Linked DNA regions of Homo sapiens: regions 1, 3, 4, 5, 6 and 7 are each linked to region 2. The links are contacts of gene promoters, found by promoter capture Hi-C in blood cells and fetal thymus (Javierre and others, 2016). All regions are on one chromosome and are shown on one strand. The core of a region is centred on a gene start or on the middle of the fragment in contact, and the rest is flanking DNA. Distances in the headings are between cores, read along the strand shown.

Region 1 (2,700 bases), core at 45-2,544, 470 kb before region 2:
AAGCCATGTTTGCTGTAGTTAGCACCTAGCATCCTTCATGAAGGCAGAAACCCACAGTTCTCAGTCTTCAAAAGACCACATTGCCACTGCTGACACTGCTCAGTCCCTGACTTCCTGTCAACTGCTCGACACACAGTCTCCACAGGACCAGGCATAACGAGATAAAGATTTAATGTTCTTGGCACCCAAACTCTAGTTGAAGAAATTGCCTTTATTTGGAGTTCTCCCTTGATAACCGCTGGCAGAACTGAGGGCTGAGAACACTTGAAGGGAGCTGAACTGCTGGGCGTGCCGTGGGGCAGCAGGTTGGCAGTCACAGGAAAGGAGGGGAGGGGGTGGGGCAAGCGAGGGCAGCTGGGGAAGGTGAGCTGGGAGCTGCTGCCAGATGAGAAGGAGGGTAAGGTGGGATGTGTTTGAGGAGCCTCGGAGCAGCATAGAAGGGGCTGAGATTCACATCTCAGTTGTATGGAACTGAACTTGAAGGCAGGCAGTGCTGTGATAACGTAAGCTTTTAGGAAATCATAGAAGTCTCAGAGTTTTGGAGTTACCCAGACTATGGAAATAGGAGTTGGAGGCAAATTATATTCAGATCTCAAGGGCCAGGGAGGTTTCAATACCTGGTAGTGCAGATTTCGTATCTAGTCTGGGAGGTGGGCAGTGGCAGTGAGAACCTTCTCTCAAAGAAGACTGCAGATTAAACTCTGTCTCCTGCTCAGCGCACTTGTTTTCACATTGTCTGTGGTGGCTTTGACTCAAGCAGAGTTGAATAGTTGTGATAGAGACTGGATCACCTGCAAAGATTTACTGTCTAGCCCCAAAAGCACGTCTGGCAACCCCTGACCTCAAGTATTAATGAGCCTTTCAGTGTGCAAAGAAAGGCCTGTATCCAGGTTGGGGGAAAGACAAACTTCTCAAGAAGAACGTAGGTACAGAAGCCGCAGAGAGAGCGGGAAGGCCATGGGGAAGAGCAGCTCCAGCCCCCATGGCAGTCATGAGCACTTAAAATGTTTCCACATGGGGGCTCCAGTGATTAGGCTCGAACAAAGTTAACTGATTAACTTTCAAGAAAGATCAGAGAAACGGCTGGTCTTGGCTAGAAACCTTGGCTCTACCACAGAAGAGCAATGATGAGAAGGGAACTCTAGAGTGAAAACTGCAGAGGCCTAGAAAGGTGAGGACGGACAGAGGGCCTTTGAGAGCAGGAATAGGGTGGGGCTACAAATCTCTTGTTCATGTGCACCTTTGAGCATTCATGGGGGAAGTCTGATAGCAGTATTAGAAATTCAAGGAAAAAACAGCTGGTTTACCAATGTAATGTGATTAAAAGACGGTTCTCATCAGAATCCCTCAATTCTCTCCCCCCTCACCAAATCCCCTTCCCATCTGCTTAATTATTAACCCTTGGAAACTCAGCTTGAGAATTACTCCCCCCAGCCCTCTCCCAGGCACCAACTCTGCATCTCCATAGCCCCCATTCCAGACCGCTCAGGATGTCCTAGCTGTGGCACAGATGGTTATTTGCCAGTGTTCCTTCTCCCCTTGTTCCTTGGCAGACCAAGTGGACACATGACCTCCCAGAATAAAAACTGTATTTCGCAGCTGATACGGTTTGGATCTGTGTCCCCATTCAAATCTCATGTCAAACTGTAATCCCTGATATTGAAGGAGGGGCCTGCTGGGAAGTGATCATGGGGGTGGGTCCTTTGTGAATGGTTTCGCACCATCCCCTTAGTGCTGTTCTCGTGACAGAGTCCGCCCAAGACCTGCTTAAACGTGTTCAGCACCACCCCTCGCTCCGCCTTGCTCCTGTTCCCACCATGTGAGATGCCTCGCCCCGCCCCAACCCTTTGCCTTCTGCCATTACTGGAAGTTTCCTGAGGCCTCCCCAGAAGCAGAAGCTGCTATGCTTCCTGTACACTCTGTGGAACCATGAGCCAATAAACCTCTTTATTACCCAGTCTCTGCTATTTCTTTACAGCAATGCAAGAACAGACTAATATATCAGCTTCCCTTTGTGTGGCCTGAAGACCACATTCTGATCAACAGGAAGTAAGCAGTCGTGTTGCGTAACAACCCACAGCAAGCTTTACCAGACAGCTTGTGTGTGCCCTTTGTCCCTTCTCTTCTTTCTGCTGTTTCAGAATATGAAAGTAGTAGCCAGAGCTCAAATCTCTCTCTCTGTCCCTGGATGGCATACTAAGTAGCCACAACATGCAAGATGGACGTCTGGGTCCCAAAAGTGGCAGAGCTCCCATGCCTGGGGCTTACCTCTGGACTCCTGTGCCTAAGAAATGCCTCTCATTTAAACTACTGTTTTCCCCCATGAGGTGAAGCTATGTTTCTTTCTCCCATTAGTACTACCACCCCAATTCCAACCAGAGAAGTACTACCACCCCAATTCCATCCTCAGAAGAGGGTGCTCAAAAAACAATCCCAGCACTTTGGGAAGCTGAGGCAGGAGGACCACTTGAGCCCAGAAGTTCAAGACCAGTCTGGGCAACATAGTGAGACCCTATCTCTACAAATTTTTAATTAGCTGGGCATGGTGGTACATGCCAGTAGTTCAAGCTACTGGTGGGGAGGAGGTGAGGTGGGAGGATTATTTTAGCCCAGAGGCTGAGGCTACAATGAGCCATGATTGTGCCACTGCACTCCAGCCTGGGTAACAGAACAAGACCCTGTCTCAAAAAAACAACAACA
Region 2 (2,700 bases), core at 135-2,634:
GGGAGGCTGAGGTGGGAGAATTGCTTGAGCCCAGGAGTTCGAGGCTGCAGTAAGCCAAGATTGCACCAGTGCACTCCAGCTGGGGTGACAGAGCAAGGAGACCCTGTCTCAAAAAAAAAAAAATATCCCACAATGATTCCTCACATCCCTAGGATGAAACCATAGCTAGCTAGCATGGTGTACACAGCACACCCAGCCAACCAAGGGCATCTCTCCAGCTCTGATTTCTGAGTGCTTCCATTGCACGCCTACACTCCAGCCCTTCTAGACTATTTGCAGTTCCCCAAATAAGCCATTCTCTCTCTCCTTTCCATGTATTTGCACCTGCTGCTTCCTTTGCCTTGCATATCTGGTTCCTGTTTCCTTCTTCCTAACTCACATTCTATCCACTCCCTCACCTGGCCTACCTAACTCATATTTGGACATCAAAATGCATCTGCTCTGTGAAGCTTTCCTTTAAGTTCCTGGTTCTCACGGCACCCTGCACACAACTCTGTCACAACATGTGCTATTGTGCAAGCATTTTTGCTATTGTCGGTCTCTCTTTACTACTAGAGTTCCTTGACAGCAGAAGCTACATCTAATTTATTTATATATCCTTGGCGTTTAGCAGAGTGTCTGGCTTATAGTAAATAAGTATTGAATAAATAAAAAGGGGCTCTCAATATTGTTATTAGACCACAATCACCACTTAATTCATCTTATTGTGCACCACTTCATATATCCCAATCACTTCTACCAGAAAAAAGATCATCTAAGTTCCGAAATCAGTGTCCACCATCATGCTAAACACACACATAACAAACATATTGTGGTGTTAACCAGAAGACAGAGACAGTGTGAACACAGATGTGTAAAGCATGACCTCTGGTGGCTTTCAGAGGATTCTCTCCCACTCCATATCTCATTTCTCTTCAGAGAACAGTCTTCCAAATAGGGAAATGGGTAGCTTGAAGGAACCTGGGCACTGCCATAACTTATACTCACAATTGATTTGAGCTGCCAGAGCCCCTTGTTCCTCTAGACTAGAACTCTACTTTCCTCTGCTCAAAAACGCCTCTGAAACGTTAGCCGACTTGAATATGGAGATAGGGAGGCAGGCAGAAAACAGACTTCCCTGGTACCCGACTGAGTGTCTTCACCAGAGTCCTTTATGTTACCATCTCTGCTCATCACACAGACAGAAAGAAGACTACCGGCGACCCTACTGGGAATCTGCGCAAGAAACCACAGTACCTTGGAAGCCCGCAGTTCTCCTAAGTAGGAATCATCGTTATCTAATGTAGGCTGCTGGAAAGGGTCCCGGGTGGGAGGCATGGCTAAATGCCTAACTCTTTTAAGAGGGATGGGAGGCCCGCTCAGCCGCAGCACAGCCTCACTGGCATAAGATCCCGGGTCCCAATTGTTTGGAGCGCTGGTTTCGGTTGCCAGGCAACTGCCCAGCCATCTATGACAGAGGAATTCCCTCAGAGGAGGGCGCCACCTGGCGGCTGACCACGGGAGGCCCCTGGGGAGGAAGCTCCGGGGACTGCAGAGGGAACGTTCCGCTGAGCGGGCCCGAGACTTGGAATTGCACTCCTGAGCCTCGGCGGAAAAGTGCTGGCTGCTCACCATCAGGACTTCTGCAAAAGACTTCAGTTGAGGAAAGAAGTCCTGAAAGATGACCCAGAAATTTCCTTCTCCCTCGCACCTAACAAAAGGCTTTCAAAGCCATGAGAGAATGAGGATGTCAAGAGACCAAAGAGGGCCGGGCGCGGTGGTTCACGCCTGTAATCTCAGCACTTTGGGAAGCGGAGGCGGGCGGATCGCTTAAGCCCAAGAGTTCGAGACCAGTCTGGGCAACATGGCGAAACCCCGTCTCTACAAAAAGTAGGAAAAAAATTAGCTGGGCTTGGTGGCACGCGCCCGTAGTCCCAGCTACTCGGGAGGCTAATCCAGGAGAATCTCTTGAACCCGGAAGGCGGAGGTTGCAGTTAGCCGAGATCGCGCCACTGCACTCCAGTGTGGGCGAGAGAGTGAGACCCTGTCTCAGAGAGAGAGAGAGAGAGAGAGAAAGAGAGAGAGAGAGAGAGAGAGAGAGAGAGAGAGAGAGAGAGAGAGAGAGAGGCCCACGTGCGGCGCTTGGGAAATTGCGGCTAAGGCAAACTCCTCGCTTAAACTCGGATCAACTACAGTGTCAGGGCTTCTCTTCTAGCCGGTTGTAAAAGCACGGATGGATTTGGCGGGATGTAAGATCTCCAGGAGTGGCCTTCGTAGGAGGGAACACGTACTGGGGCCTCTTCCAGGCGACGACGTCTGGAGGGTGATCTCTCCATCTTCTTTCTCTCGGTTCACACGCCACGTGTGCAACATCGGAGATGCTCATAAAATAACCCCTGGCCCGAAAGGGCAGTAGAAAACGGAAATTTGTTGGCTGGCTTGGAGGATGCTTCCACTGTGTTCTTCACACGAGCCCCGGGCCTGCCTGTTGGGCCGGTTGCGCACCCCGGGCGCGCGCTCTCCCGCGCCCACGCCGCGCGCACCAGCGGCGGCGGCTGCCATGGCGACCCGCAGGTGAGCTGCAGAGGCGCGCGTGGTCCCTGCCCCACCCGCGCGGAGCCAGAGAGGAGGCGGTTGTCAAGGCGACGTGGGTAGGAGGAGAGGACAGAGGGAGGAGGAAGGATGGGCGGTGTTGGCGTAGCCGCAGGGAGGTGACTGAAG
Region 3 (2,700 bases), core at 78-2,577, 420 kb before region 2:
ATGCCGCTGACACTTAGATATCAAACTCAACCTCTCTACCAAGCTCTTCATCCAAACAGACTAGGGGTAAAGACTGTCTAAGACTATACAGAAAGATCATGTATCTGAGGAATTAAAAATAGGGCATAAGATTTGGCAATGTGTCACTCGGCAAACTCAATAAACTAGTATTATCAAGGCAAAAAATATATACACAAAAAGAACTGGGTTAAAAAAAATTTTTTCTATGGACTTTTAACGTGATAACTCATGACACAGGGGTTAGGATCTTCAGTTTTCCTTTGGAAGTTAATAAAAACCACTATAGAGAAAAACAAGATTTGCTAGTAAGAAGGTGAAAACTGCTTCTCCTCTCAGGGTTCTAGTTCTCTTGCAACCTAAAACAAAGGAACCAGACAGGATATCCACTTTCGTACCGTACAGCTCCAAACACTAATCAATCACTCCATTCACTTATCTTTTCTATTTCCTTGTATTCTGTCAAACAACTGTCTCTTGGTTTAAATACTTTTCTGCTGGTCTTCGCTCTCTCTCTCTCCTCTTCTGGTTTATTTTCATCCAGATGTGGATTTTCCCCAAAGTTTCCATCTTATCCTTTTCTCCTCCTGTGTATGCGCCACTGAAGTCAAGATTGCCACATTCAAACTCCCCACACATTCACACACCCACTCCCAATATACAGTATCTCGCCCAATGTTTATCACTCCGGATACATTCCTAGAATCCAAAGATCTGGAGCAGGGAGAAAAAGAAAAGGCGCCTACCAGATGCCTGGAACAGTCTACTAGGCACTACAAGTACATTAGCTCTTTCAATGCTCACAACAGCCCAGCCAGATGTTATCTCAATCTTACGGATGAATAAATTTAAGACTTCTGGCTGGACACTAGAGGCTGGCGAAGTACGTGACCTTTGATCAGAATCTCCTGGAGGAGTGGGGTCCCTGACCATTGTACCTTCCAGAGAACCTTAAAACTGAGATCCCAGGAGACCCCTCTCGGATACTCTGCAGAAGTCAGAGTGACGATATTAGCAAGCACACCGCAGCCATGCGAACCCTTCCTGGCTCAGCTCCCGACAAAAGAAATCAAGCCCCCAGTCAAAATACAACAACAACGGATTAGGCCTACAACCCTCTCCCCCGGCCCCCAAATTCTCAGGAGAAATCCCCTAAGAGTCAGGTACGGAGGTCACTGCAGCGACTTCAGCGTGCAGAGAACGCGGGGACCTAGGAAGAGGACGCTCCAGCCCAACTGAGCGTCTCTGATTGGCCGCCAGCTCAGCTTGGAACGCTGGGGTGCGTGGCGTCATATCCGCCGGGCCCGCCATCTTGTTCCCAGGGGCAGTTGGCGGAAGAGATCGAGCTCCCTGGCTGCCGGCTCGCCTTCTGCGTGGAGTTCTCGCGGTCTGGGTTTCGCTGTCTGCTCTTGGCCCGGGGTCATTTTGTCGGCGTCGGGTGCCCTCTCTTGCCCAGCTGGGGCACAGCGAGGCGGCCCCTTCTCCCGACGACGTTCGATGGAGTAGGGTCCCAGACCGTTGTCCCGAAGAGCGAGATCGAGCTTGGCCCCCTCCCCCCCCTCCTTCCCTCCCTCCTTCCTTCCGCCGCAACATGGCTAACAACAGCCCCGCGCTGACAGGCAACTCGCAGCCGCAGCACCAGGCGGCTGCAGCTGCGGCTCAGCAACAGCAGCAGTGCGGCGGCGGCGGCGCTACCAAGCCGGCGGTCTCCGGCAAGCAGGGCAATGTGCTCCCGCTCTGGGGCAACGAGAAGACCATGAACCTCAACCCCATGATCCTGACCAACATCCTGTCGTCGCCTTACTTCAAAGTACAGCTCTACGAGCTCAAGACCTACCACGAGGTGGTGGACGAGATCTACTTTAAGGTACGAAGTGTGTAGGCCTTGGCTTTGGGGGTAAGTTCGGAAGAGGGGGTATGGAGGAAACGGGCGAAGGCGGCCCCCGAAATCTGAAGATTTGTGGGTGGGGGAAGGTGGTTCGGCGGAGGGGTGGCTGCGGCCTGTAGTGTGTCTGGGAGGGGTCGGACTGGGGCCGCCCTCTCGTTTCCATTTTAGATTTTTAGGGCCGGGAGAGCCCGCCACTATTGATCTCTCTCCTCCCCCAACCTCCTGCCCACCCCTGGGGGGAGTTGGGCAAGAGGGATGGGGGAGAGGAGGAAAGAGTAACAGAAGCCTTTCCAGTTTACAGCTTTAAAATTATTCCTTTTGACGTGGATCTGCTGAGCGCCAACTTGTTGGTGCTTCTCCCGCTCACCCCTGGCCAGGGCGTGTAATGACTTCAGTATTGGCCTCGTGTTGTTGGTACTCACTATCCGATCCAGGCAGGGAAATGGTCAGTGCGTGTGTGTCGGGTGGGGTGGGGGGATGAGGGTGGAGAGGTGCCATTTCAAGAGGTGTACAGAAGGCCTGGAAATTTTCCCAGCAGGAAGTCAGGAGTAAGAGGTCTCAGCCACCTGTGCATTGGGCTAATTTAGAATTATCTGGGCCCTGGGCTTCTGCGGCAGGGTCGGTGCTGGCTTGGCTGTGCTGGGGAGCTCACCTGGCGCCTCCTCACTGCACTCTTGTCTCAGTTCTTGTTTCGTTAGCAGGATTGACTCAGTCTTGCAGCGAGGCTCGGAGCAGCCCAGGGTCGCAGGTAGAGGTATGCACTATTAATCATGCTCAATCGCCATAAATGCATT
Region 4 (2,700 bases), core at 107-2,606, 380 kb after region 2:
GTCCAGGGCCGGGCCAAGGACTTTGACGTGCTGGTGGCAGAGCTGAAGGCCAACTCCCGCAAAGGGGAGTCTCCCAAGGAGAAGAGCCCAGGGCGCAAGGAGCAAGTTCTCGAGCGCCCCTCCCAGGAGCTCCCCTCCTCAGTCCAGGTTGTAGCAGCGGTGGCTGCTCCCAGCAGCACCTTCTCTGTTCGTGCCAAGCAGACCTACCCATACTGTGCACTGCCCAGGTACGTCTAGAATCCAACCCCTACCTCACCTGGGGGTACTTGGCCCCTAAGCCATCAGGGGCCCCTGGAAACAGGCTCAGGGAGTGTCCTGGAAGAGGCACTCCCTCAGCCCTGAGTGTGGGGGTATTCCTGGGGCTCCTGACAGTGGTGTGGAAGCAGGAGACTCCCCTGTTTCCAACCAGGCATACCACAGCACCCCAGCCTCTCGGCAGTGTGCCAGATCCAACACTCAGGATATGAACATTTTCCCAGCTGCCTCCAACAGACCGAAACTTGTCACTGGGGAGCTGAAAGGGTCACACTCCTGGGCAAGGCAGCCCTATGTGTATTCACTCACTGGCCCCTTCGCGTGCAGAGGCTATGCCGGACCCCAGGGAGAGCCTGACTTGCTGAAGGAGACACACATGCATCTCTGCCTGTCACACAAGGGGCAGACACGAAACACAGGCTCAGCTCACAGACAGGCTCACAGGAATATGTGATGCAAGAAGGGGGTTGAGCGAGTTGACTGGGCTGACCAGAGCTGGGTACAGTTTTAACTGTGAAGATTTTCTGGAGGAGGCGGATCTGCAGCAGATTATCCCCTGAGGAGGAAGGGGCTGGGAGGTGAAGGGGCTGGGGAGAGAATCCCTTGGGAGCAGTCTCTCTGTCTCTTACTCTGTGAGCTGTGTCGTTCCCTCCTGTCCTTCCCTTCCCTCTGTCCTCTTCTGATTGCCCTGCAGGGTGTCTGCCCTGGTGCCCTGCTCTTTGAGCTCGGCAGGTTCAAGGATGCCCCTACTCTGACCCCACAACAGTCACATTCCCCTGGCATCCCTTTTGGCCCTTCCAGGTCCCGGGCCTCCTCCGAGAGTGAATTGGATGATGAAGGCCCCTGTGGTGGTGATGGGGACCCAGGCCTGTTCCCCTTCCCCATGCCCCGGGGTGGGACCCAGGCCTCCAGCGAAGAGAGTGAGGAGGAGGGGACATCTGACGACCTCCACCCACCCCCTGACTGCCATTATGCAACCCGGCCCCCACGGCCACAGGCGGTAAGGACCTGGAATAGGGGCCTATGGAGGGGGTGGCCCAGCACTCCTGGCCAACAACATGGGGAGGAGGCCAGATCCTGTGTGCAGATGCTGTCTGTGCACCCCAGACCCTGCCAACCATGCACCTTCCTTCTGCCTTTAGTTCTGCACCTTTGGGAGCCGGCTGGTGAGCCCAGGATGCTATGTGTTTAGCCGCCGGCTGGACCGGTTCTGCTCAGCACTCAGCTCCATGCTGGAACGGCACCTCAGCACACACATGTGGAAGTAAGTCTCTCGGACCCAGAATGGAAGTTCTAGAATGGAAATTCCTAGGTTCCAGACATACTTGGGCTTCAGAAGCCCTGATCTTTCCTGTATACCCATAGGTGTGCCTTGGCTATTTGCCAGCAGGACCCCAGATAGGGAGTAGCATGAAAAGGAGGTGGGAAAACTTGGCAGCCTAGAGTTTGGCTAAGGCAGGGCATGGAAGGGTGGTCTGGGGGTGAATCTAGACTTTCATCCATCACTTCCAGTACCTTTTGGGTAACTAGGGATAGGGGATGCCCAAACCAAGATTTAAAATGAAGTTCCTAGTGGGCTGCCTCCTAGTTAGTAGGTACTAGCTAATTCCTCTCCACAGGCACCCCTGTGTCTTCTTCCTAACCCTCAGTTCCAGCATCTCCCAGCAGATGGCAGCAACTCTGGGGCTCTGCTGACCATTTCTAGGTGGGGCAGAGAGACTGGAGTGTGTCTTGTGTTGGGGGAAGCTGTCTTGTTTCTTGGCAGTCACAGTGGGGCTTTCTTTTTGCTGCAGGAAGATCCCACCGGCAGCTGAACCTCCAGCTCACCTTGTCAACTCCCCGTTATCTGCTCCCCTGAGCCCATCCTCTACAGGCACCTGCCCCCGCCTTCCAGGTCCAACCCTGAGACCTGCCTGCCCAGCCTCCATGCCCCCCACCAAGGACAACCTTGTCCCCAGCTACCCTGCAGGCTCCCCCAGCGTGGCGGCTGCCTGTAGCCAGGCAGAGTGCATGGGCGGGAGCCAGGCTATCACCTCACCACTGCCTGCCAACACGCCATCCCCGTCCTTCAGCAAGCTGCCGCCTTCCAAGGCCAGCAAGTCATCCAAAGGCAAGGACGGGGTGGAGGTGGAGGCCCCTTCTCGAAAGCGGAAGTTATCCCCTGGCCCTACCACTCTTAAACGGACCTGCATCCTGGAGCCCACTGGAAAAGGGAAACCCTCTGGCTGTAGGGGCCTCTCGGCCAAAACTAAAACAGCCCTGAGCATGGGGCTTAATGGGACAATGGGGCCAAGAGTGAAGCGGGCAGGGCCCCTGGACTGTCGTGGCTCCCCTCATCAGCTCCCCACACCAGTCAAGGCTTCTCAGCTGGAGAACCGGGGAGCAGCTGGACACCCAGCCAAGGCCCTGCCAACCAACTGCCTCTCTGAGGAGGAGGTGGCCAAG
Region 5 (2,700 bases), core at 22-2,521, 360 kb before region 2:
GGTTTGTTCACCACCTTGGGAGCTCTCCAAACTCTCTTAAGGGGTTTTTATGGAGGCTTCATTATATAAGCATGAATGATTACATCACTGGTGATTGAACTCAATCTCCAGTCCCTCTTCTTTCCCAGAGGTCCTGGGGTGGGGCTGAAAGTTCCAACCCTCTAAACATGGCTTGGTCTGGTGACCAGCCCTCAATCTAAAGCTGTATAGGGGCCCCTCACCCAAGAGTCATTTCATTTGCAGACGGAAGAGATGCTATCACTCAGGAGATTCCAAGGTCTTTAGGGGCTCTGTGCTAGGAACAGGGGGTAAAAACCAAATATTTTTTATTGTACCACAGTAACTGTTATTATTTATACCCTCTGATAGAAGAGCCGTCAGTTTTTAACATGACTTGTTACCAAAAACTTGTTGATAAATTTCCCAAAAGCATTAACTTAAATATAAATTAGGAAATAGAAAAGCTTAAGTTAATGAAATAACCATCTCATTAATAAGATTTAATGAAAAATAGGTTACTATAATTTATATTTTAATTATATTTTATGTATTACTATGTATTACTACCGATTTTAAAATCAATTGAACATTAATAAAACATAGTGTGGGAAATTGTTTTATTAAGTAGAACAGATATTTGTATAAATTGTCCACATGAATTATTTAATACATAATGGAAAATGTTTTTAAATCAGTGAACTAATTTTTAAAACATATTTAGATAATTTTGAAAGTCATTGTAAGGAACATATTTATTGATTATAAATCAAGACTGAATATTGGTATCCAAATGCTGTGATATGTATTGTTGAAAAGCATAATGTAGTAAATCAGTATGAAAAATGTTTATGCAGATTTGATCATCAGATATAATTTAGCAATGGGCAACTTAAGGATGTTCCCGTGGGTTTTTTGTTTTCATCTTGTTTTACTTGGGATTTAAGTAGAATAGGAAAAACCAAATCAGGTAATAATTTTAGAAATATTTTCTCGGTACGTTCATGTACTTAAATATATTAACCCTTTTTATAATACCTTTTAAAGTTAAAAAATTGATTACAGTTTAAATGTACTGTATAGGCTAGGTATTAGAATTGGATTTTTCCGTAAGGTTTAACAAATATGTATGCTTTTTATGTAGTTTAACAAATTTCAAATTGGATTTTTCCTTAGCCATTTTGGACCCTTTGGATTACTATGTTTCTGTTTATTTAATTCCTAAGTAATTCCTTTCTTTTTTAAACAGAGATAAAAGCAACAGTGTTTGATGACTGCAAGAAAGAAGGCGAATGGAAGGTAGAGTTTGCATACCTTGCTCTTATAAAAAATAATACAAACTTTAAAAACAATACAGTATAAAAACTACATAGTATTTACATGGTATTAGGTATTCTAGTATAAGTAATCTAAAGATAATTTGACGTATGTGGGAGGATGTGTGTAGGTTACATGCAAACACTACACTATTTTATATAAGAGATTTGAGCATCCATGGATTTTTGGTATACACAGGGGTCCTCGAACCCCCATGGATACCGAGGGATGACTATATAGGGTCTGGAATCACACTGCTTGGCTCCAAATACTAACTTCACCACTTAATAGCTGTGGCTCCTTGCACAAGTTACTTGACCTCTCTCTGCCCCATTTCCTTGTTTATAAAAATGGTGATGGTAATACCTCATATGGTAATTGTAAATATGAGGTGAATTAATCCATGGAAATTACTTAAAACAGTGCTTTGTGCAATAATTGTTCTACAAGTGGCAATTGTAATTTTAAGAAAATTTGATGTTAAACAGTGTCATTCAAAATGAATAAGCTCTATGTTTCAAATTAGAAATATTTCTGTTTGTTTACTTATGTACGATACTATATGCATGTATATTGAGAAAATCTCTAGCTCATGCAAGATAAAAGATGAGATCATTTTGCCTACTGTTCTGATATTTTGTGTTATAAAAGGCTTATAAAGTTTAATGGATAAAATTCTTTTTTTCATTCTTGGTAATAGGATGCTTACAGTATTTTTAAATTTGTGTTTGTTTTAAGATAATGCTTTTAGATGAATTTACCACTAAGCTTTTGGCATCGTGTTGCAAAATGACAGATCTTCTAGAAGAAGGTATTACTGGTAAGTGTTATTCTTGGCATGAACACTTTTTAATTGTAATTGGGGGAGATCTGAGGTATTAAATTTTAGTTAGTAGTTGTGTTTCTAAGGAGCTTATTTTTTTAAATTACTGTAGCCATAACTATTAGATTTAACATTCTTTTCTCTGAATCTTCTGTCAGTTTTTTTCCCTCAGCCGAGACATATAATTAAGACCTCTAACCAAGCCTAACTTAATTGCTTTGTTGAGGTTGTTCTTTAAATGTTTTACTCATATATACATATATATATATAAAACAATTTTGTATATTGATACACAAGCTTTACTTCAGTATTTTGATTTAGTTTATGGTTTCATATATCGCTTTAAAATGGATATCAAGATTTATGTCATAAAATCAGCTGTTGTACATGTTTACAAATGCATAATGCTGACTTCGTAAATTTATCTTTATTACCAGAAATGAGACAAATAATTATAAGTTTAAATCAGTTTTAGTATGAAAATTTGAAATACTTACAGATTCTGAAAAAAAATCATAATGTCATAAGAAGTTATCTTCCTCTAGGCGGGATTATGTTATTGA
Region 6 (2,825 bases), core at 292-2,791, 360 kb after region 2:
GGAGAGTGCTGGTGAAGAGAAGGCTCCATAACTGACCGTTCACTGCCCCCAAGTTTTGAGTACCTACTTTCTTTTTCTTTACTTTTTTTTTTTTTTTTTTTTTTTGAGATGGGGGTCTTGTTCTGTTGCCCAGCCTGGAGTGCAGTGGCATGATCATAGCTCACTGCAGCCTTGAACTCCTGGGCTCAAGTGATTCCTCCCCATCAGCCTCCTGAGTAACTGGGACTATTAGCAGGCACCACCATGCCCAGCTAATTTTTTGTTTGTAGTTTCTGTAGGGGAGGGTCTTGCTATGTTGCCTATATGTTGCTAGTCTCAAATTCCTGGGCTCAAGCCATTCTCCTGCTTGGCCTCCCAAACTGCTGGGATTACAGCTGTGAGCCACCATGCCCGGCCCCTGCTTTCTTAAGGAACCTATAAGGAGCCATTCACTGACTAACTGCCAACGGGTAAAAATATTTCCAACTGTGCTGCCCTTCCCAGAATGTGACACCCTAATCACATCCAGTTCTGGGCACCAGAAGCTAAGAGGAATAAAGAAACTTCTAAGAGGAATCAGATGGCCACAGAACTGACAAAAGATTAGCGAATTCCTATGAGGAAGAGTTAGAGAAGTTCCACTATTACAATGGTGAGGCCACTTTGAGTAAGTAAAGGGTAATGATGCAGAGGCTTCGAGTGACTCTTCTCTACCTCTGTGAAGAAGGCGGGCAGACAGGGCTCTACTGCAGTCTTCATCATTTAATTCAGGAGAGGAGGGTATTTAGGCATTGGAGGGAGGTTTTACTGTCTTCTTTCCCAGATATCTTTAAACATGGAGACAATTCTCATTTGTCTGGAATAAACCTCCTGAAAACAGAGAGGTGCCCATTATTTGGAGAGAGGCCAATGGCTCCAGCATGGAGATCTGCAAGGCCAGGCGCTGCAAGCCGGGGGCAGTGGCACTGGACACCTCGCAGGGGCAAAGCACAGCTGTTGGCAAGCCCAGTCAAGAGTACACTGACAGTGTTACTCTCAGAGAGTGAGAGAGTTCCAGGGCTGGAAAGGGCCTCTAGATTATCTACTCCAAACCCCTCCATTTAAGATGAGGAAACAGGCTGGGCTCATGCCTATAATCCCAGCACTTTGGGAGGTTGAGGCGGGCGGATCACAAGGTCAGGAGACCGAGACCATCCTGGCTAACACGGTGAAAACCCGTCTCTACTAAAAAAAATACAAAAAATTAGCTGGGCATGGTGGTGGGCGCCTATAGTCCCAGCTACTCAACAGGCTGAGGCAGGAGAATGGTGTGAACGCAGGAGGTGCAGCTTGCAGTGAGCCAAGATTGCGCCACTACACTCCAGCCTGGGCGACAGAGCAAGACTCCATCTAAAAAAAAAAAAAAAGATGAGGAAACAGACTCAGAGAGCAGAGTGACTTATCAGAGCTCACCTGGCTAATTAGTGACAGGACCAGGTCTGGAACCTAGGTTTCCATACTCCTAGTTCAGGTCTCCTTTCACTCCATAATGCTAACAAGCATTGGCAAAATAAAGTGCATATAGCTTCTATTCTAGACTCTGGATGCAGGGCTGACATACAGATCAGCTGTCTTCCAAGTGCTTAATGTCCAAGACACTGAGTCTCGAAGAAAGATACAGAGAGTGAACAATTAAGAGAATAAGCTCATTGCTTAATAAGAACATGACATTGTGTACAAGTCAAAGGTAAGTGCACAGGAAATCCAATCTGAGCAGATGATGTGGAGGATAAGACATTTCAATTTCTCACCTCCTTTTCTTTTTTCTTTTCTTTTCTTTTCTTTTTTTTTTTTTTTTTGGCGGTGGGCGGGAGAGGGACAAGGTCTCATTCTGTTGCCAGGCTGGAGTGCAGTGGCACGATCTCGGCTCACTGCAACCTCCGCCTCCCGGGTTCAAGTGATTCTCCTGCCTCAGCCTCCCAAGTAGCTGAGATTACAGGCATGCGACACTCTACCGCCAGGCTGATTTTTGTATTTTTAGTAGATATGGGGTTTCACCATGTTGGCCAGGTTGGTCTCAAACTCCTGACCTCAAATGATCCACCCGCCTCAGCCTCCCAAAGTGCTGGGATTACAGGTGTGAGCCACCGCACCTGGCCTCTCACCTCCTTTTCTAACCAAAGTGTGTTTCCCAGAAAGAAATCTGAAAATCATAGGATGAGGAAATTTTATTTCACTTGAGAGAGAAGGTGTAGTAAAATGTGAGGAAAGGTGGAGAAGAAAACAATTCGAGTGACCTGAGACACCTCTGGATCTTAACACTGAGAAATGGCAGCATCAACAGATGACAAAGGGAAATACCAGTGGGGAAACAGTGGAGACTGATAAGGCAAGTGGAGGGTACTTTTCTCTGGGCTTGAGCCAAGATTGTCACATTGGCCCAGCCAGCACTATTGCTAGAAGGCCATGTGCCTTTTGGGGAAGAGGAATTAGGCTGTCAGTACTATGGGACAGTAGTATGGCCCATCTGGGGTGGCTTGGTAGAAGCTGGCCCCTCCAGCTATACCTCCACCAAGGCAGGAAGCCACTGGAAGTTAGCAACTAGGAAACAAGATTAGATGACTAGTTCAAAGGAGAAATGAAAAGCGTTCTAGGCATGTCTGATCTAGGTTGATGCAGGGGAATCTTTTTGAGTGTGTCTCTCCCTTGGGAAGGAAATTCAAGTCTATCTGTAAGCTAGAAGTTTCCTAAAGCCTGAATTGCAGAGGTTTTGTGTTAGTCATCTTAAGGAGGCTACCTGTGGTCCCCAAGTCATGCCCAATGGAGAGATCTGGCAACTGTCCATTTCCTGCCTCTTCATCTCCCTT
Region 7 (2,700 bases), core at 47-2,546, 400 kb after region 2:
TGCAGCTGGGCCATGTCATCGAAGGCGCACCGGTCCACCGCCATGATGTGGTTATTGTAGAGCAGCAGCACCTCCAGTACTTGCAGGTCACTGAACAGGAACTCATCCAGTGTACGCAGCTGGTTGGAGGAGAGGTCCAGGTAGCGCAGGTTGGGTACCGGGGAAAAGGCCTCAGAGGAGATGAAGTTCAGGTGGTTGTGGCTCAGCAGCAGGGAGTGCAGTTGGGTCAGGCGCGTGGGGGTCCACTCGGCCCGCAGGCGGCTCAGGTTGTTGTGACTGAGGTCCAGTAGTGCTGTGTAACTGGGCAAGGAATGGGGCACATTGGGCAGCTGCTGCTTGGAGCAGCTGAGGATGTTGCTGGCGCACAAGCAGGCGGCAGGACAGCTAACCACGGCTCGGCCAGCTCTGGCCACCTCAAAAAGCAGCAGGGACAAGGACGGCAGCAGGAGCCAGAGGCCTCTCGGGTCACGGTGGGGGTGCATAGTGTCACTGGAGTGGGCGAGGAAGGCCACAAGGAAGATCTGGGAGGAGGTCACCCGGGCATGTTCTGGTGGGGTACGGAAGGGTCACTTGAGAGAAAGAGGATGGGTTTGTGGTCACCAAGGACTCCAGAGGGAAGGACACCCTCTCCCACTTCCCCTCCCACCCTTACCTCCACCCCCTTTGGGCTAGGAGAGAGAGATGCTGGGTAGTTTCCAGGCACTGTGCAGGCAGTGGGCTGTAAATATCGGCCGAAGAGGAGGTGGCCCGAGGGCCTACTGGGCTGGGGTCACAGGGGTGCAGGCTGCAGGTATGCACAGGATGGCAGGGACTGCTGGGAGTCACAGGGATGGCACGGGCAGGGTTTGGAGGTGGGGTCGGTGTGCCTTTTGGGAGGAGCTGAGGGAAGGTCAACAGGGCACCGGGCTGGGTAGGACGCGTCCGGTCGGGGTTGAGGGTCCCCGGGGCCTGTAGGGGCGGGCTCCCCCCGGGGCCTCCGGTCACTGCACCTGCTCGGCGAGGACGTGTCTCAGCCCATGGCCGGTCTGGGAGCTCCGTCGCGGCCTCTCCCGGCGGCGCCTCACCGGCCGGCCTGTCACTGCGCCCACCTTACGCAGGGGCCCGCGCCCGGCACCGTCGCCTCCCGGGGACTTGCGGGGCCCCGCTCCGCTCACCCTGCCACCGCCTCGACCGCTGAGCCCGCCGGAGCCCACCGACCGCGGTCGCTGCCTCCAGGTCCGCAGGCCTGGCGCGGATCGGTGCGGGGAGCCGGAGGCGCAGCGATCCCAGCGGAGGGAGCGGCGTGGGGGCAGCGAGCACCGCGCGCGCGCCCGTCGCCGCCGCCGGAGCCTCGGGGCGCGTGCGCGCGGCGGGGGCGGGGCGCACGTGCGTGTGTTTGTGTCGGAGCCGGCCGGGCGGACGCGCGCGGGGTCGTTCCCTCAACCAGCGAGCTCCGGACGCTGAGCTAAAGACGAAAATTGGCAGGAAGAGCGGCACTGGCCCCTTAGGCTCCGCTATAACTTCCTCCATCCCCCATTCCCCCATCTCCCAGCACCCTTCTCGCTACACAGACCGGCTCTCAGGAAAAGTCTAACTAAAGTGAATTCGCTGCACCTACTCGGGCAAGAGGCGTCACATGTCTTTTAATTTCGCAAATTGAAGAAATCTGGCTCAGCTCCCGCCTGCCAATGTTGGCGGGAAATTCATTAGTCACATTCTGAGGTTCCCCCTCCCTTCTCTCTGTGGCTGTGGGGTCTCAAAAATTGGGGGAGGGGTTCCCCCCACCCCACCCCCGTCTTGATGCTACTAGTTCATGACCCTTGAGGTACCACTGAAGGGCACAGCTCCTTAGCCTGCAAGCCAGCTGCGCAGGAGTGAGGGGAAAGGGGGTGTTTGGTGAGCCCAGGCCCCAGAACACCCCTTTACAGACACCTCATGCACCTCTCCCCACTCCACCTGCTACACACACACACACACACACACACACACACACACACACACACACGGACTGCATACAAGCCAGGGACAATTTCCATTCCTGGAAACTCCGAAACCCTTCCCAGCCCGGAGGAAGTCATTCAGCCCTTAGGTCTGGCCACTTGCCTTCTTCCTAAACCAGTGCCAGCTCCCCACTCCCCTTATGGAGCAATTGCAACATAGTTTCTCTGTTACCTAATCCTCAAGATGAAGGCCAGTGGTGGAGGTGGAGGGGTTTCTTCTTTAGGGTGGCCCCTGAAACAACAAGAAGCTGTTACTAGTGTATGTTGTTTGGGTTTGGGGGTGAGGAAAGAGAGAGATGCAGGAAGAGCCTAGACCTTATCATTCAAGATGTTAGCTGTTCTTGAGATGGTGGACCATAAGAAATTACCTTTTTATTTGTTCCAGTCTCTTATAACAGCAAGATCAAGACTGAAATTAATGTCTCAGTAGATTAGCTTGCTAAGAGTTTTAAAAAGAATTTATATCTGTCACATGTTTTACCATGAATTTTAGTGAATATATTATCTCTTCAAGGAGTATTAGCGTGTTAATCTTATGCATAGTGTGAAAAGGTCTTTCTGCAAGGTGCAGTGGCTCACACCTGTAATCCCAGCACTTTGGGAGGCTGCGGCAGGAGGATTGCTTGAACCCAGGAGTTCGAGAGCAGCCTGGGCAACATGGTGAGACTCTGTCTCTTAAAAAAAAAAAAGGCATGGTGGCACGCACCTGTGGTGCCCACTA

The links. Contacts are between HindIII fragments. The CHiCAGO score rates a contact against its expected background, and 5 or more counts as called.
Region 1: a fragment that was not itself captured here is called in contact with the fragment with the promoter of CFAP276 in region 2 in 1 of 17 cell types (naive CD4 T cells); the score reaches 5.0 in naive CD4 T cells.
Region 3: the fragment with the promoter of PRPF38B here is called in contact with the fragment with the promoter of CFAP276 in region 2 in 3 of 17 cell types (naive CD4 T cells, total CD8 T cells and naive CD8 T cells); the score reaches 6.5 in naive CD4 T cells.
Region 4: a fragment that was not itself captured here is called in contact with the fragment with the promoter of CFAP276 in region 2 in 1 of 17 cell types (M2 macrophages); the score reaches 5.5 in M2 macrophages.
Region 5: a contact is called between a fragment that was not itself captured here and the fragment with the promoter of CFAP276 in region 2, in 3 of 17 cell types (naive CD4 T cells, erythroblasts and non-activated CD4 T cells). The highest score is 6.3, in naive CD4 T cells.
Region 6: a contact is called between a fragment that was not itself captured here and the fragment with the promoter of CFAP276 in region 2, in 1 of 17 cell types (endothelial precursors). The highest score is 6.4, in endothelial precursors.
Region 7: a contact is called between the fragment with the promoter of AMIGO1 here and the fragment with the promoter of CFAP276 in region 2, in 1 of 17 cell types (M2 macrophages). The highest score is 5.3, in M2 macrophages.

What each region holds. Positions count from the first base shown.
Region 1 is chr1:108,644,954-108,647,653 of GRCh38, forward strand. No RefSeq gene overlaps it. Among named protein-coding and RNA genes, the nearest start is that of HENMT1, 15 kb to the right of the region's middle. The HindIII fragment of the contact is 1,576 bases long and covers 507-2,082 here.
Region 2 is chr1:109,111,363-109,114,062 of GRCh38, forward strand. CFAP276 (cilia and flagella associated protein 276) reads right to left here and starts at 1,385. Exons shown (of 5, transcript NM_001245025.3): 1 at 1,237-1,385. The coding sequence starts at 1,317. RefSeq lists a silencer at 2,505-2,574. The HindIII fragment of the contact is 3,574 bases long and covers 448-2,700 here.
Region 3 is chr1:108,690,983-108,693,682 of GRCh38, forward strand. It overlaps PRPF38B (pre-mRNA processing factor 38B), which reads left to right and starts at 1,328. Exons shown (of 6, transcript NM_018061.4): 1 at 1,328-1,885. The coding sequence starts at 1,610. RefSeq lists enhancers at 980-1,169, 1,107-1,667, 1,250-1,579, 2,230-2,700. The HindIII fragment of the contact is 12,264 bases long and covers 1-2,700 here.
Region 4 is chr1:109,488,874-109,491,573 of GRCh38, forward strand. It overlaps ATXN7L2 (ataxin 7 like 2), which reads left to right. Exons shown (of 11, transcript NM_001350175.2): 7 at 1-227; 8 at 1,057-1,255; 9 at 1,398-1,519; 10 at 2,049-2,700. Among named protein-coding and RNA genes, the nearest start is that of CYB561D1, 3.9 kb to the right of the region's middle. RefSeq lists a silencer at 1,984-2,033. The HindIII fragment of the contact is 4,525 bases long and covers 1-2,700 here.
Region 5 is chr1:108,751,011-108,753,710 of GRCh38, forward strand. It overlaps STXBP3 (syntaxin binding protein 3), which reads left to right. Exons shown (of 19, transcript NM_007269.4): 2 at 1,247-1,296; 3 at 2,053-2,134. Among named protein-coding and RNA genes, the nearest start is that of STXBP3, 5.7 kb to the left of the region's middle. The HindIII fragment of the contact is 1,618 bases long and covers 463-2,080 here.
Region 6 is chr1:109,472,524-109,475,348 of GRCh38, forward strand. All of the region lies in intron 2 of SYPL2 (synaptophysin like 2), which reads left to right. Among named protein-coding and RNA genes, the nearest start is that of SYPL2, 7.4 kb to the left of the region's middle. The HindIII fragment of the contact is 4,024 bases long and covers 1-2,825 here.
Region 7 is chr1:109,508,431-109,511,130 of GRCh38, forward strand. It overlaps AMIGO1 (adhesion molecule with Ig like domain 1), which reads right to left and starts at 1,297. Exons shown (of 2, transcript NM_020703.4): 1 at 990-1,297; 2 at 1-569. The coding sequence starts at 482. It overlaps LOC105378893 (a long non-coding RNA gene), which reads right to left. Exons shown (of 3, transcript XR_001738179.2): 3 at 2,172-2,211. RefSeq lists silencers at 901-960, 971-1,120, 1,181-1,300. The HindIII fragment of the contact is 14,739 bases long and covers 1-2,700 here.